Linked DNA regions of Homo sapiens: region 2 is linked to region 1. Evidence: promoter capture Hi-C in 16 types of primary human blood cells and fetal thymus (Javierre and others, 2016). All regions are on one chromosome and are shown on one strand. Each heading gives the region's core, a stretch centred on a gene start or on the middle of the fragment in contact. The rest is flanking DNA. Distances are from core to core; before and after follow the strand shown.

Region 1 (6,924 bases), core at 1,253-3,752:
TGGCTTATTTCACTTAACATACAGACCTGCAATCTCATCCATTTTTTCTGCAGCGGAGAGGATTTTATTCCTTTTTAGGCTGAATAATACTTCATTGTGTGTGTATACCGCAGTTTCTTAATTGAAACAAATTTCTAAAAAGCAAATATTTAAAAAATGTTTCGGAATGTGAAACTTTAGGGATATTGTGCCCATTTTATTCTTTTCTATTTCCCATTTTATGTATATGCAAGTGTATAATAAAGCAGCAATCAATGTGTGTATAAATCTGTAACTTCAACAAATGTAAAATGAAAATGCTAAGTGGTGGCTGGGCGCGATCGCTCACGCCTGTAATCTCAGCACTTTGGGAGGCTGAATCAGGCGGATCACCTGAGGTCGGGAGTTCAAGACCAGCCTGACCAATATGGAGAAACACTGTCTCTACTAAAAATACAAAAAAAAAAAAAAAAAAAAAAAATTGCCGGGCATGGTAGCGCATGCCTGTAATCCCAGCTACTTGGAAGGCTGAAACAGGAGAATCGCTTGAATACGGGAGGCAGAGGCTGCAGTGAGCCGAGATCATGCCATTACACTCCAGCCTGGGCAGCAAGAGTGAAACTCTGTTAAAAAAAAAAAAAAAAAAAAAAGAAAAGAAAAAAAGAGAAAATATTACTTCCATTATCGCAGGGGGTGCTCACCCCTGATGATATTGTTTTCTAATATCCAGGGAAGGAGAGTATGATATTACTCCCAATATCGCAGGGGGTGTACACTTTTTTGTGATATTGTGTCTAATATCCGGGGAAACAGAGGATGATATTACTCCCAATATCGCAGAGGGTGGACACCCCCCTGGGATATTGTTCCTAGTATCCCAACGGGGAGAGGATGATATTACTCCCCATATCGAAGGAAATGTACACCACCCCTGTGATATTGTTCCTGATATCCAGAGAGGAAAAGAATGATATTACTCCCAACAGCGAAGGAAATGTATACCCGCGCTGTGATATTTTTCCCAGTATCCGGGGGGGAGAGGATCATATTACTTCCAATATCGCAGGGTGTGTACACCCCCTCTGTTATCTTGTTGCTAACATCCAGGTTTGGGGAGGAAAACATTACTCCCAATATCACAGGGGGAGTACACCCCTCCGTGACCTTGTTAGTAATTTCCTGGGTGGAGAGGATGACATTACTCTCAATATCGCAGGGGTGTACACCCCACTGTGATATTTTTCTAAATATTCAGGGCGGGAGACGATAATATTACTCCCAATATCGCAGAAGGTGTACATTCCCTGACCATCAAACATAAGAAGTCCATCAACCTGTTTAGTTTTCTTTAGATCTGTATTTGAATTTGTGTTGTCCGTTTGTTTATTTATTATTTTTGAGACACAGTCTCACTCTGTCGCCAAGGCTGGAGGGTAGTGGCGCGATCTAGGCTCACTGCAACCTCCGCCTCCCGGGTTCAAGCAATTCTCCCACCTCAGGCTCCCTAGTAGCTGGAATTACTGGCACGCGCCACTACGTTCGGCTAATTTTTGTATTTTTAGTAGAGAAGGGGTTTCACCATGTTGGCCAGGCTGCTTTCGAACTCCTGACCTCAGGTGATCCGCCCTCCTCGGCCTCCCTAAGTGTTGGGATTACACGCGTGAGCCACCGCTCCTGGCCTGTCCATTTATTTTTGTTTTCTTTTTGTCACACTAAAATATAAGCTCCATGAGAGCAGTGACTCTGGATCTGTGGGGCCCGGAATAAACAGCGACTGACGCCGACTGCCTTCAGCAAGAGTCCGCTGGAGGATGGCTGGATATTTCTGGGAGGGTCGCTCTGGCAGGGGCCGCTGGAGCTACCCCAGCAACGCCATCCAAATCAACCTGAACGAAGAAGTGCGGACACTCGCCCTGGCCCCTCCGTCCTGAAAAGCTGACCCGCGCAAACAGCAGCGAACAGCAAGACTCAGTTCTGGGTCGCTGCCGCCGAACTTTCCCAGGCCGGAAACAGCGTGGAAACGTTGCCGGAAGTGGAGACTGAAAGCGGCGGAAGGGACGCTGGAATGTGGAGCGGTTGTGGGGCGGCAGCTGCGGAACTGCGCGATTGTGGTTCCCGCCGTATTTCCCGTTCCCCATCTAGTAACTCCCATCTCAGCCCACGTATCTCCCTGAGTGGAAATCTCGGGCCCCAGACCAGTCGATTGGGAGGTCCGCCCTCCCCTTCAGCGACTTGGTCTGTGTTTTGGCAGTTGCCGCGACAACAGTCACTTCCGGGAAGGGGCTCTGCGAATCTCCTTCCGTCGGTCCGCTCAGAATCAGCTGTCCTCTCAGACTGTGTGGGTGGTTTCCCCGGCCGCAGCTCCGTACGGGCTTGGATTGCTGGGCCTCGGTGCACCCCAGCCTCCCCCACTCGGGTTCTGAGCTTGAGCTGGCGGCTCTTTAACTCTGCTTCACTGTTGCTCTTGGCAACATCCACTTCCGGGAGCGAGTGCCGTTTCCCCCGCTCACCGCGGGCTAGGGAGCGTGGGATTCCGGACTGTGAGCGGCTGTTAGTGCGTCGCAGCTGCTGGCGATCCGGCGACCCTCGGCCGGCAGGACCCGCGGGCCACGCAGCCGGGGCCTTCTCAACGCCTCAGTACCTCGGCGGGACCGCCATGGTTCTGCTGCACGTGAAGCGGGGCGACGAGAGCCAGTTCCTGCTGCAGGCGCCTGGGAGTACCGAGCTGGAGGAGCTCACGGTGCAGGTGGCCCGGGTCTATAATGGGCGGCTCAAGGTGCAGCGCCTCTGCTCAGGTGCGGCTCGCGGGTGGGCCCATCCCGGACAGATCGAGAGACCGGCGTGGGATGGAGAAAGAGGGGCAGGGTGGGCCGAGGGGTCAGGTTTGTGAAGATTATTGAAGAGATTTGCAGCAGCCGGGGTTGAAACGGGACACTAGGGTTAACCGGAGATGAATAAGGAACCGGAGAAGATCCGGCCTGTCTGACACCCCGGGCTGGGAGGTGGGCCCAGGTGCCTCTCGGAGCCAGGATTTGGGGTGCTGCGAATAAGTGGAAATGGGCTGGGGAGGGAGGAGGGAGCCGAAAGGCCGGGCTGAACAGCAGACTTAGTGCAATTAATCACGTGTGAGGGGTGAGATGAGAACTAGGTGGGCTTTTAAAAGCTGAATTTACTATTTTTAGTCGCCCAATGTAAAGCAGCGAGCCACCTGGCTTTGGGACGGCCCCTTACAGTTGAGGAAGCCTTGGTGATCTTTCCCCGCCCTGGAAACGGCCTGTTGCGTTGCGGCGCCGTCTCCCTACCCCGCGCAGGTTCCAGGGCACCCGCTTTGCCGCAGAACTTTCCGGCGGTGGAAGGGCCCCCATCTGTGCTGTCCATTGGGCAGCTGCCGGCCACTTGTGGCCGTAGAGCATTTGGAATGTGGCTAGTGCGGCCAGGCAACCGAATTTTACATTTGCATTTTAATTAATTAAATATATATAAATATAAATAAATACCATATATATAGTATATATGAATATAAATAAATTATATATATGTATATATAAATATAAATAAATTATATATATATATATATATATGGTATGTGTGTGTGTGAGAGACAGGGTCTTACTGTTGCCCAGGCTGGAGTGCAGTGGCGCGATCTCTGCTCACTGCAACCTTCGCCTCCCGGGTTCAAGCTATTCTCCTGCCTCAGCCTCCCAAGTATCTGAGATTACAGGCGCCCACCACCACGCCCAGCTAATATTTGTATCTTTAGTGGACACGGGGTTTCATCATGTTGGCCAGGCTGGTCTCGAACGCCTGACCTCAGGTGATCCGCCTGCCTCCGCCTCCCAAAGTGCTAGGATTACAAGTGTGATCCATCGCGTCTGGGTCATTTTAATTTAAATAAATTTAAATCGCCAAGTGGAGCGAGTAGCTGCCGCATTAGACAGCATAGTTTTTGAACTTGACGGGATGATACTTCCTGATGTGGTCTAGGATATTACTGTTTATATAACTATCGTGTATATATAGAATATACAAACGTAACTATTTGCAATAAATAGTATATTCATTTATGTGATTTATTAAATTGCATGAATATGTGATTTATTATGAAATGTATTGATTACATTATATGAATATGTGAGTTTTGCACCGTGGAGAAATTCCTGAGGGTCATGGTTCTTTTCATGAAACTTATGTGTAGTTTCTTAATTGAGGTTCCAACACAAACTCAATATTAAATGTTATTTTTAAGTTAAAGCATTTGAGGAGAAAAGGAATTCATCTTCTTTTCCTATAACGTTATAAATTGGAAATGTGCTGAATGCTAAGAGTCACATTAGTGAACTGAAAATTCATGTATTTATTCTGCACCAGTGCTCAGCCTTCAGAAGACAAGGATGGGGCCGGGCGTGGTGGCTCACACGGGTAATCCTGACACTTTGAGAGGCTGAGGCGGGCGGATCACTTGAGCCTAGGAGTTCTAGACTAGCCTGGGCAACATGGTGAAACCCAGTCTCTACTAAAAATACAAAACGTGGTGACACATGCCTGTTGTCCCAGCTACTCGGGAGGCTGAGGCGTGAGAATCGCTTGAACCCGGGAGGCAATGCTGCAGTGAGCTGAGATCGCTGCAGTGAGCTGAGATCGCGCCACTGCACTCCTGCCTGGGTGACAGAGGGAGACCCTGTCTCAAAGAAAAAAAAGACAAGGATGAATAAGACCAGTACCATGCCCCCGTGTCAAAGGCCCAGGCCAGGTCTGGCACATAGCAAGTGGCATATAAATGTTTGTTCCATAAAATAGTGAGCCAGATGGGCAAGACCCCTGACTCTTTGGAGCTTACATTCCAATGGGGTATGAGGTGTTATGATTGTGATACTGTCTTTCACTTATTTTTAAGAAATGGAAGAATTAGCCGAACATGGCATATTTCTCCCTCCTAATATGCAAGGACTGACCGATGATCAGATTGAAGAATTGAAATTGAAGGATGAATGGGGTGAAAAATGCGTACCCAGCGGAGGTGCAGTGTTTAAAAAGGATGATATTGGACGAAGGAATGGGCAAGGTAAGTGAGGATTTCTCTTCTATGTGCATGCTTGATACAGGCATAAGTATGAAAACAGTTCCTTTTTTTTTTTTTGAGACGGATTCTTGCTCTAGCCCAGGCTGGAGTGCAGTGGCACAATCTCAGCTCACTGCCACCTCTGTCTTCCAGGTTCAAGCGATTCTCCTGCCTCCGCCTCTTGAGTAGCTGGGACTACAGGCATGTGCCACCACACCTGACTAATTTTTGTATTTTTAGTAGAGACGGGGTTTTGCCATGTTGGCCAGGCTGGTCTCGAACTCGTGACCTCAGATGATCTGCCGGTCTCGGCCTCCCAAAGTGCTGGGATTACAGGTGTGAGAAAGCAGTTCTTTACGTTTAAAAATTGACCTCGTCATTTCTCTACAGACTTACAAAATACTGTACTCTGTAGCTCCTTTGGTAAAACTCTAATCTAGGATGAATTAGGTAGATAAAGGAAGCTTTTGTCTTGCTCTTTAATAAGTTGCAGCTTGCTTTTATATGTATTCGACGAACCAGATGAAATGACCCTTTCCCTTCTGTAGCTCAAAAATGGTTGAGTATTGGCAATTTCATGTGTTTCCACCTAATAATTGTTGGCAGGTCCTCACCGCAATGTATTCAGAGTTGTGTTTTGTTACTGTTCGCAAATGTTGGGGGATCTTTCGAGATGGACTGTGTGAAAGAGGAAAGGGAAAGCATGTCAGCACATGGACTTCCCTGATCAAGGACATGCTTCTCTCTGGGGCAGAGCACTTCAGTACACGGCAAAACACTGAGGAAATTCCTCTCCTTTCAGTGTTTGGCTGATCATGTGGAATTGATGATAATCCTTTTTGATAGCTTATTCTTTTTAACCTGCATTAAAAGCGCCATTTAAAACACTGTAATTGAACAGCCCTAAAACACTGTTAGGAGTAAAAGAACAGTATTCCTGCAAGGCCTTTAGCAGCTCAAAAATACATTTTTTTAAATATCAGGGATAGTAAGAATTCCTAGTATTTTTTCCTTTCAATGTTAACCTGAAAAATGGTTGTCTTCCACAGCTTTCTTACGTAAGAAGATGTGGTAAGATGAGGAAAAAAAATATGAGAACCAGTTAACAGTTCATTATTCATCATTAAACCAATATGTAATATGTTCTTAAATTAACCACCTTTTTTTTTTTTTTTTTTTTTTTTGAGACAGAGTCTTACTCTGTCACCCAGGTTGGAGTGCAGTGGCACAATCTCGGCTCACTGCAACCTCTGCCTCCCGGATTCCAGTGATTCTCCTGCCTCAGCCTCCAGAGTAGCTGGGATTACACATGCCTGCTACCATGCCCGGCTAATTTTTGTATTTTTCATAGAGACAGGGTTTCAGCATGTTGCCCAGGCTGGTCTCGAACTCCTGACCTCAGGTGATCCACCCATCTTGGCCTTCCGAAGTGCTGGGATTACAGGCGTGAGCCACTACGCCCAGCCTAACCACTTCTATTATAATACAATCTTGTGTTTCTAATATTTTCAATGTCTAATTAATACTGTTATTTACTAGGAATGTATGGTTTCAACTTGCCCCATTTTCCCTAGGTTTGGGCATTCCATCTTCTTCTTTTTTTTTTTTTTTTTTTTGGCTTCTAAGCTTTCAAGTTATTATTTTTTCCTGATCTAGGGGTCACCAAATTATGGGCTACAGGTCAAATTTAGCCAGCTGCCTATTGTAAATAAAATTGTAAGGAGACGCAGCTACCCCAGTTATTTAAGTATTGTCTGCTCTTGTGCTACGTGGCAGAGCTGAGTTATCCCACCCAACAAGACTGTGTGGCCTGCAAAGCCTCAAATTTTACTCTCTGGCCCTTTCCAGAAAAAGTTCACCGGCCCTGTTTACCCAACGACATGCAT
Region 2 (6,749 bases), core at 1,288-3,787, 870 kb before region 1:
ATTGTTTATAAATTGCCTGTTCTGTGTTATTCTGTTATAGCAGTAGAAAAGGACTTCAGACAAGCTGCATTAACATAAGTCTCCACTACTAAAAAAGCAACTTAAAGCATGTGCATCCCAACGGTAGGTGAACAGTAATGTCTTCCTTCATATATGGAGGTAATCATTTTTCTACAGATATTATTCTGTAACAAAGCTTAAAAAAATCCTGGGAAACCTTAAAATATTAGTACTTTAAAAAGCAATGGCCTGTCTGTGCCAGGGCAGCATGTGGTCCATGCTGATCGACAGAGACACTCAGGCTGTGCCCTCAGGATGACCGAGTGGGAGACAGCAGCACCAGCAGTGGCAGAGACCCCTTGACATCAAGCTCTCTGGGAAGTGGAGCACTGATGATATGCAGATCAATGGCATTTCCCTGCAGGATTACACTGCAGTGAAGGAGAAGTATGCCAAGTACCTGCCTCACAGTGCTGGGTGGTATGCAGCCAAATGCTTCCGCAAAGCTCAGTGCCCCATTGTGGAGCCCCTCACTAACTCCATGATGATGCACGGCTGCAACAACAGCAACAAGCTCATGATCATGTGCATCATCAAGCATGCCTTCGATTTCATCCACCTGCTCACAGGCGAGAACCCTCTCCAGGTCCTGGTGAACGCCATCATCAACAGTGGTCCCTGGGAGGACTCCACATGCATTGGGCGAGCAGGGACTGTGAGACAACAGGCTGTGGACATGTCCCCACTGCACTGTGTGAATCAGGTCGTCTGGCTGCTGTGCACAGGCACTCGTGAGGCTGCCTTCTGGAACATCAAGACCATTGCTGAGTGCCTGGCGGATGAGCTCATCAATGCCACCAAGGCCTCCTCCAGCTCCTATGCCATCAACAAGAAGGATGAGCTGGAGTGTGGGGACAAGTCCAACCGCTGATTTTCCTGGCTGCTGCCTAATAAACCAGTCTGCCCTTTGGGATGCCTCCCCCACCCCCCCAAAAAAAGTGATGAGATTTGGAAACTTCTAATTGTCCCCTAATATCTAGTTTTCCTTCCTTAGTACTGAAACCCCATTTTCCAGCCTTCTTTGCAATTTGGTGTAGTCAAGTGACTATTTTACTAGCAGAATGAAAACAAAAATGGTACATGCAACCCCCGCCCCTTTCAAAAGGTTCTTAAAGAGAGGAGAGTGTTCCCTTCTGTATCCTCTCTTCTGGTGGAATGCCAGCATTGTGACATATTTCAAAAGTAAATTATTCAGCACATATTTATTGAACACCTAGATCCTAGCCCATGTATAAGAGCTATAGGAGAACATTATCCAGGATGGCATTTTTGGTGATAATTCCATGATACAAAACCTTTTACTTCATTATGCCTCAAGTAAAATGCTTTTTAGATTTCCACTGATAATAACTCTACTTGGCTGGGCACAGTGGCCCACGCTTGTAATCCCAGCATTTTGGGAGGCAGAGGCGGGTGGATCACCTGAGGTCAGGAGTTCAGGATCAGCCAGGTGAAATCCCGTCTCTACTAAAAATACACAAATTAGCCAAGCATGGTGGTGCGCACCTGTAATCCCAGCTACTCGGAAGGCTGAGGTGGGAGGATTGATTGAGCGTGGGAGGTAAGAGGCTGCAGTGAGCCAAGATCACACCACTGCACTCCACCCTGGACAACAGAGCAAGACCCTGTCTCAAAACAAACAAACAAACCACCCAAAAAACAAAGCTCGACTTTCCCCCAAACAACTAAATGGTTATAGGCATTTCTGTAGGAAATTTAGACGGGGCTTCCAAACGCTGTTAAAGTTATGTTGAAAATCCAAGAGGCTGAAAGATATCTGACTATAAGAAAGACGAAAAAAAAAAAAAAAGACAAAAATCTACGTGAATAGACGGGAGAGCGCCGAGCGAAATCAGAAGACTAGTTGTATTGTGAGGATCACCTCGGGTAACCAGCACTCGCTGGGTAGCCCTGGTTTACTAACTTCAACTTTCTGGGGCTCCATTTCTGAATTGAGGGGATTAGAAAAAGGCATCTCTAAAGACCCTCCGTTCCCGAGAACCCTCCCGGAGCACCTTCCCTACTCTGGGCAGCTCGCAGACAGACAAGACTGATCGGCCATAGGCGAAGGGAAACCCTGGTCCCCCGGGTCTCGAGCTCCGTCCGCACGTAATCTCACGGTACTGCACTTCAAGTCAGCGTGCAGAAACGCAGCAGTGGGAGCCCGGCGGCGGCCGCCCACCGGCAGGGGACAGGAGAGGCCCGTCCCGCTCTGCCCGGAACCGTAGATAGCTGGGTCTGAACTCCGGCTCCGGGAGGCCTGCAGAGCAGCCCACCCCGTCCCTCGGAGCTCGCCCTGCCCCCGGCCGGCCACTTGCTGCACGCCGATTGGTCGCGAGGAGCGCCCGGCGTCCCGCTGCGCCCAGCCAACGCCCTCTCCCCGCCCCCTCGCGTCCCGCCCCGCCCCCGGCCGGCCACTTGCTGCGCTCCGATTGGTCGCTGCGGTGCACACGGCGCCTCGCCCCGCCTCACCGGCGCTCTATCCTCGCGTCTGCTCCCAGCTCCGGGCTCCCGGGGCTGAGGTGGAGCCGCGGGACGCCGGCAGGGTTGTGGCGCAGCAGTCTCCTTCCTGCGCGCGCGCCTGAAGTCGGCGTGGGCGTTTGAGGAAGCTGGGTGAGTCCTGTCTGTGGGTCTCCGGCGCCAGGCAACCGTAGAGGGCTCGCGCCCGCCGCCCGCGCGTAAGGAGGCTCCCTCGTCGGGCCCTGTCCGGCCCGGCCTTCTGGGGGCTGTGGGGCCGTCCAGCCGGGTTTTCCCTGCGTTCGGCGCCGGCCTGCAGACTCGGGCCCGCGGAGCCCCCGCCGCCCCTTCTTGCCCCTGCCCGCGTCCCTTCGGGCCGACCGTGACCGTGGCGCCGCCGCGACCCGCAAGCAGCCCGGGGAGGCTGCCCTGCCGCGCTGTCACGCCGTCAGGTTGCGTTCCTGGGGAGGGCTGGAGAGGCTCCATCTCGTGCCTTTCACCTTCTCGCGCGGCGGGCACGGAGGCGACGGTTTTCGGGACGCCCTGCTGCGGCCGCGACGCCCTCCCGAGGCCGGAGCGAGGGCCCCGGGGCGGCTCCAGCCCTTCTTCGCCCCTCCCGTTTGCCCCGAACCATTGCTAGGAGCCTGTGTTTTCTGCACTTTTCTGATTTCATTCTTACGAGAGTCAAGTACAGAGGCGGGAGGGGAAAGGGAAGGGGAACAACATTCTTTCGAGAATTATAAACCTTGAGCTCCGTTAAATAAGTAGCAGCAGAGCATTGTCACTGGAGCAGTGGTAGTCGCGGGTAGGACCGTTTCGGTTTTTAGCCAATAGGCTGGTTAAAGGTACTTAAAACAGTAAGTTGGAAGGTGCTGAAATTCTAAGGTAAATACGTGACCTTTCAAAACCAAAGCAGTGAGACGGGCTAGGCTGGGCTGCTCCCCGCTGCGCGTGCCTGGGTCGGGGGGTGCGGAGGGGCAGGGGGCGGAGGCCTCGGACGGGACGGGGTGGGAGGGAAGTGGCATCCGCATCGTCTTACATCGCGCTGTAAGACCCGATTTTCTCTTTTCGGAGGATCCCATCTCCCTTCTCAGACTCTTCATCCTACCTGCACTGTGGATCCCTTGACACTTCAGAGGCTCTGAACTCTCAGGCCGGTCACACTTTTTCATCATTTTGTTTCTTGTCTTTTAAACCTGCATGCATTTCAAACGTAGAGCAAACATTAAACTTTTTTTTTAAACTGAAGATAGTGGTGCAAGACTTTGTTATTGAAATGCAAACCAAAAGTTATCTTGAATATTTATCGCGCTGGAAAAGCAGGTTTAATTAGAGTGAGGTGGGGACGTATATTTCTTCTTCCGGAGACACAGCCTTCCCACTCACCACCCCAATCCCTCCTCTCTGTCAACTAGGGTTACAGCAGCCTTACACTGGCTAGTCTTTTCTGAATTCTGAATTCACTTCTGGGGGCCAAGGTAAAGAATTTATCGTATTTTATCCTCATTTTCCTTTTCTGTTTTTTTTGAGACAGAGTCTCCCTCGTTGACCAGGCTACAAGTACAGTGGCCCGATCTCTGCTCACTGCAGCCTGCACCTCTAGGGTTAAAGGGATTTTACAGCCTCAGCCTCCCGAGTAGCTGGGATCACAGGCGCCTGCCACCATGCCTGGCTAATTTTTATATTCTTAGTAGAGAGAGAGTTTCACCATGTTGGCCAGGCTGGTCTTGAACTCCTGACCTCAAGTGATCCGCTTGCCTCGGTCTCTGAAAGTACTGGGATTACAGGTGTGGGCACCGCGCCTGGCCTTTTAAAGTGTATTATTATTATTTTTAAATTTATTTATTTATTTATTTTTTGAGACAGAGTCTTGCTCTGTCTCCCAGGCTGGAGTGCAGTGGCAAGATCTCGGCTCACTGCAAGCTCCACGTCCTGGGTTCACGCCATTCTCCTGCCTCAGCCTCCCTAGTAGTTGGGACTACAGGCGCCCACCACCACGCCCGGCTAATTTTTTGTATTTTTAGTAAAGACGGGTTTTCACCGTGTTAGCCAGGATGGTCTCGATCTCCTGACCTCGTGATCCACCTGCCTCAGCCTCCCAAAGTGCTGGGATTACAGGCGTGAGCCACTGTGCCCGGCCTAAAGTTTATTTTTAACTTATGTATATATATATATAATTTTTGAGGCCGAGTTTTGCTCTTGTTGCCCAGGCTGGAGTGCAATGGCGCTATCGTGGCTCACTGCAACCTCCGCCTCCCAGGTTTAAACGATTCTCCTGTCTCAGCCTCCCAAGTAAACTGGGATTACAGGCGCCCGCCGCCACGCCCAGCTAATTTTTGTATTTTTAGTAGAGACTCGAACTCCTGACCTCAGGTAACCCCCCCCCGCCTCGGCCTCCCAAAGTGCTGGGATTACAGACGTGAGCCACCGTACCTAGCCCGTTTTACTTTTTAAATGATTAAAGTAACATTCAGGTTGTTTAAAACATTTAAACATGACAGAAGAATATCAAGTAAAATTCAGACAGCGCAGAGGTATGTCAAGTTAGAATTCCTTGTTTGTTCACTCTTTACATCCTCAATTCCATTCCCTAGGAGGGTATTATATTATAATATTGCTCGGCAACTGATGATAATATAAGGACACATTTCCTTCATAAGCACGTGGAGACCTACCTCATTTCCTCCCAACCCCACCCCTCACTTTGGAGACCGGGTCTCACTGTGTTGCCCAGGCTGGAGTGCAGTGGTTCCCTCACGGCTTGCTGCAGCCTTGGGCTCAAACGATCCTCCCACCTCAGCCTCCTGAGAAGCTGAGACTATAGGCGAGTGCCACCATGCCTAATTTTTGTAATTTTTGTAGAGACGGGTTTCTCATATTGCCCAGGCTGGTCTTGAATTCCTGAACTCAAGCCATCCACCTGCCTCAGCCTCTCAAAGTGCTGGGATTACAGGTGTGAGCCATCCTGCCCAGCCAACTTGCCTCATTTTCAGAATGTTGCATGGTATACCGTTGTTTGGATGTACCCTAATATACATTTTTTGGTTCCTTATTGATGGACATTTTGACTGTTTCTGGGTTTTAGCCATTAAAAGCTTTGCTTTATGAAAATCTTTTTGTCGTTCTAGGGTAAGTTTCAAGTAGATAATATAAACAGATGATTGTACTTTGATATAATTTTATTTCACAAGGAATCTTTTTAAACTTAAAGTTGTTTTTTTTTTTTTTTTTTTGAGATGGAGTCTCACTCTGTCGCCCAGGCTGGAGTGCAGTGGTGCGATCTCGGCTCACTGCAAGCTCCACCTCCCGGGTTCACACCATTCTCCTGCCTCAGCCTCCCGAGAAGCTGGGACTACAGGCACCCTCCACCACGCCCAGCTAATTTTTTGTGTTTTTAGTAGAGACGGGGTTTCATCGTTTTAGCCAGGATGGTCTCAATCTCCTGACCTCGTGATCCGCTGGCCTCGGCTTCCCAAAGTGCAGGGATTACAGGTGTGAGCCACCACGCCTGATGTTATAACTTAAAAGATTTTATAATTTAAAAGCAGTAGCTAAATCTATTTGAATTAAATGCATTTCTAAGATTCCATATATTCTTTTATTATTTTTTGAGACGGAGTTTTGCTCTTGTTGCCCAAGCTGGAGTGCAATGGCGTGATCTTGGCTCACTGCAACCTCCATCTCCCAGGTTCAAGCAATTCTCCTGCCTCAGCCTCCTGAGTAGCTGGGATTACAGACATGCGCCACCACCTCGGCTAATTTTGTATTCTTAGTAGAGACGGGCTTTTGTCAGGCTGGTCTTGAACTCCCGATCTCAGGGGATCCACCCACCTAGGCCTCCCAAAGTCTTGGGTTTACAGGCATGAGCCACTGTGCCTGGCTCTATATATTCTTTTATATTTAGAGGCTGGAACAGAAAATTTTGAAGACTGTATTAAATAATAGAGGATTTATTACTCTTCTTACCACGAAGTGGTGTTGACCTTAAGGTTATATTGCCTCATTTAATTGGGTTGGCAGAAGTGATAAGAGAGGTCCTTCAGATTAGAGGGGGCTCTGCTGCCCAGGCCGGAGTGCAGTGGTGAGATCTTGGCTCACTGCAACCTCCACCTCCTGGGTTTAAGTGATTCTCCTGCCTCAGCCTCCCGAGTAGCTGGGACTACAGGTGCGTGCCACCACGCCCAGCTGATTTTTTGTATTTTTATTAGAGATGGGGTTTCAACGTGTTAGCC

Evidence for each region. Contacts are between HindIII fragments. The CHiCAGO score rates a contact against its expected background, and 5 or more counts as called.
Region 2: a contact is called between the fragment with the promoter of TMEM50B here and the fragment with the promoter of CFAP298 in region 1, in 2 of 17 cell types (naive CD8 T cells and fetal thymus). The highest score is 6.3, in naive CD8 T cells.

What each region holds. Positions count from the first base shown.
Region 1 is chr21:32,607,955-32,614,878 of GRCh38, reverse strand. It overlaps CFAP298 (cilia and flagella associated protein 298), which reads left to right and starts at 2,502. Exons shown (of 7, transcript NM_021254.4): 1 at 2,502-2,774; 2 at 4,874-5,041. The coding sequence starts at 2,636. CFAP298-TCP10L (CFAP298-TCP10L readthrough) reads left to right here and starts at 2,502. Exons shown (of 12, transcript NR_146639.2): 1 at 2,502-2,774; 2 at 4,874-5,041. RefSeq lists enhancers at 2,261-2,370, 3,031-3,080. The HindIII fragment of the contact is 6,059 bases long and covers 1-5,504 here.
Region 2 is chr21:33,475,762-33,482,510 of GRCh38, reverse strand. It overlaps TMEM50B (transmembrane protein 50B), which reads left to right and starts at 2,537. Exons shown (of 7, transcript NM_006134.7): 1 at 2,537-2,673. It also overlaps the pseudogene RPS5P3. The HindIII fragment of the contact is 5,416 bases long and covers 199-5,614 here.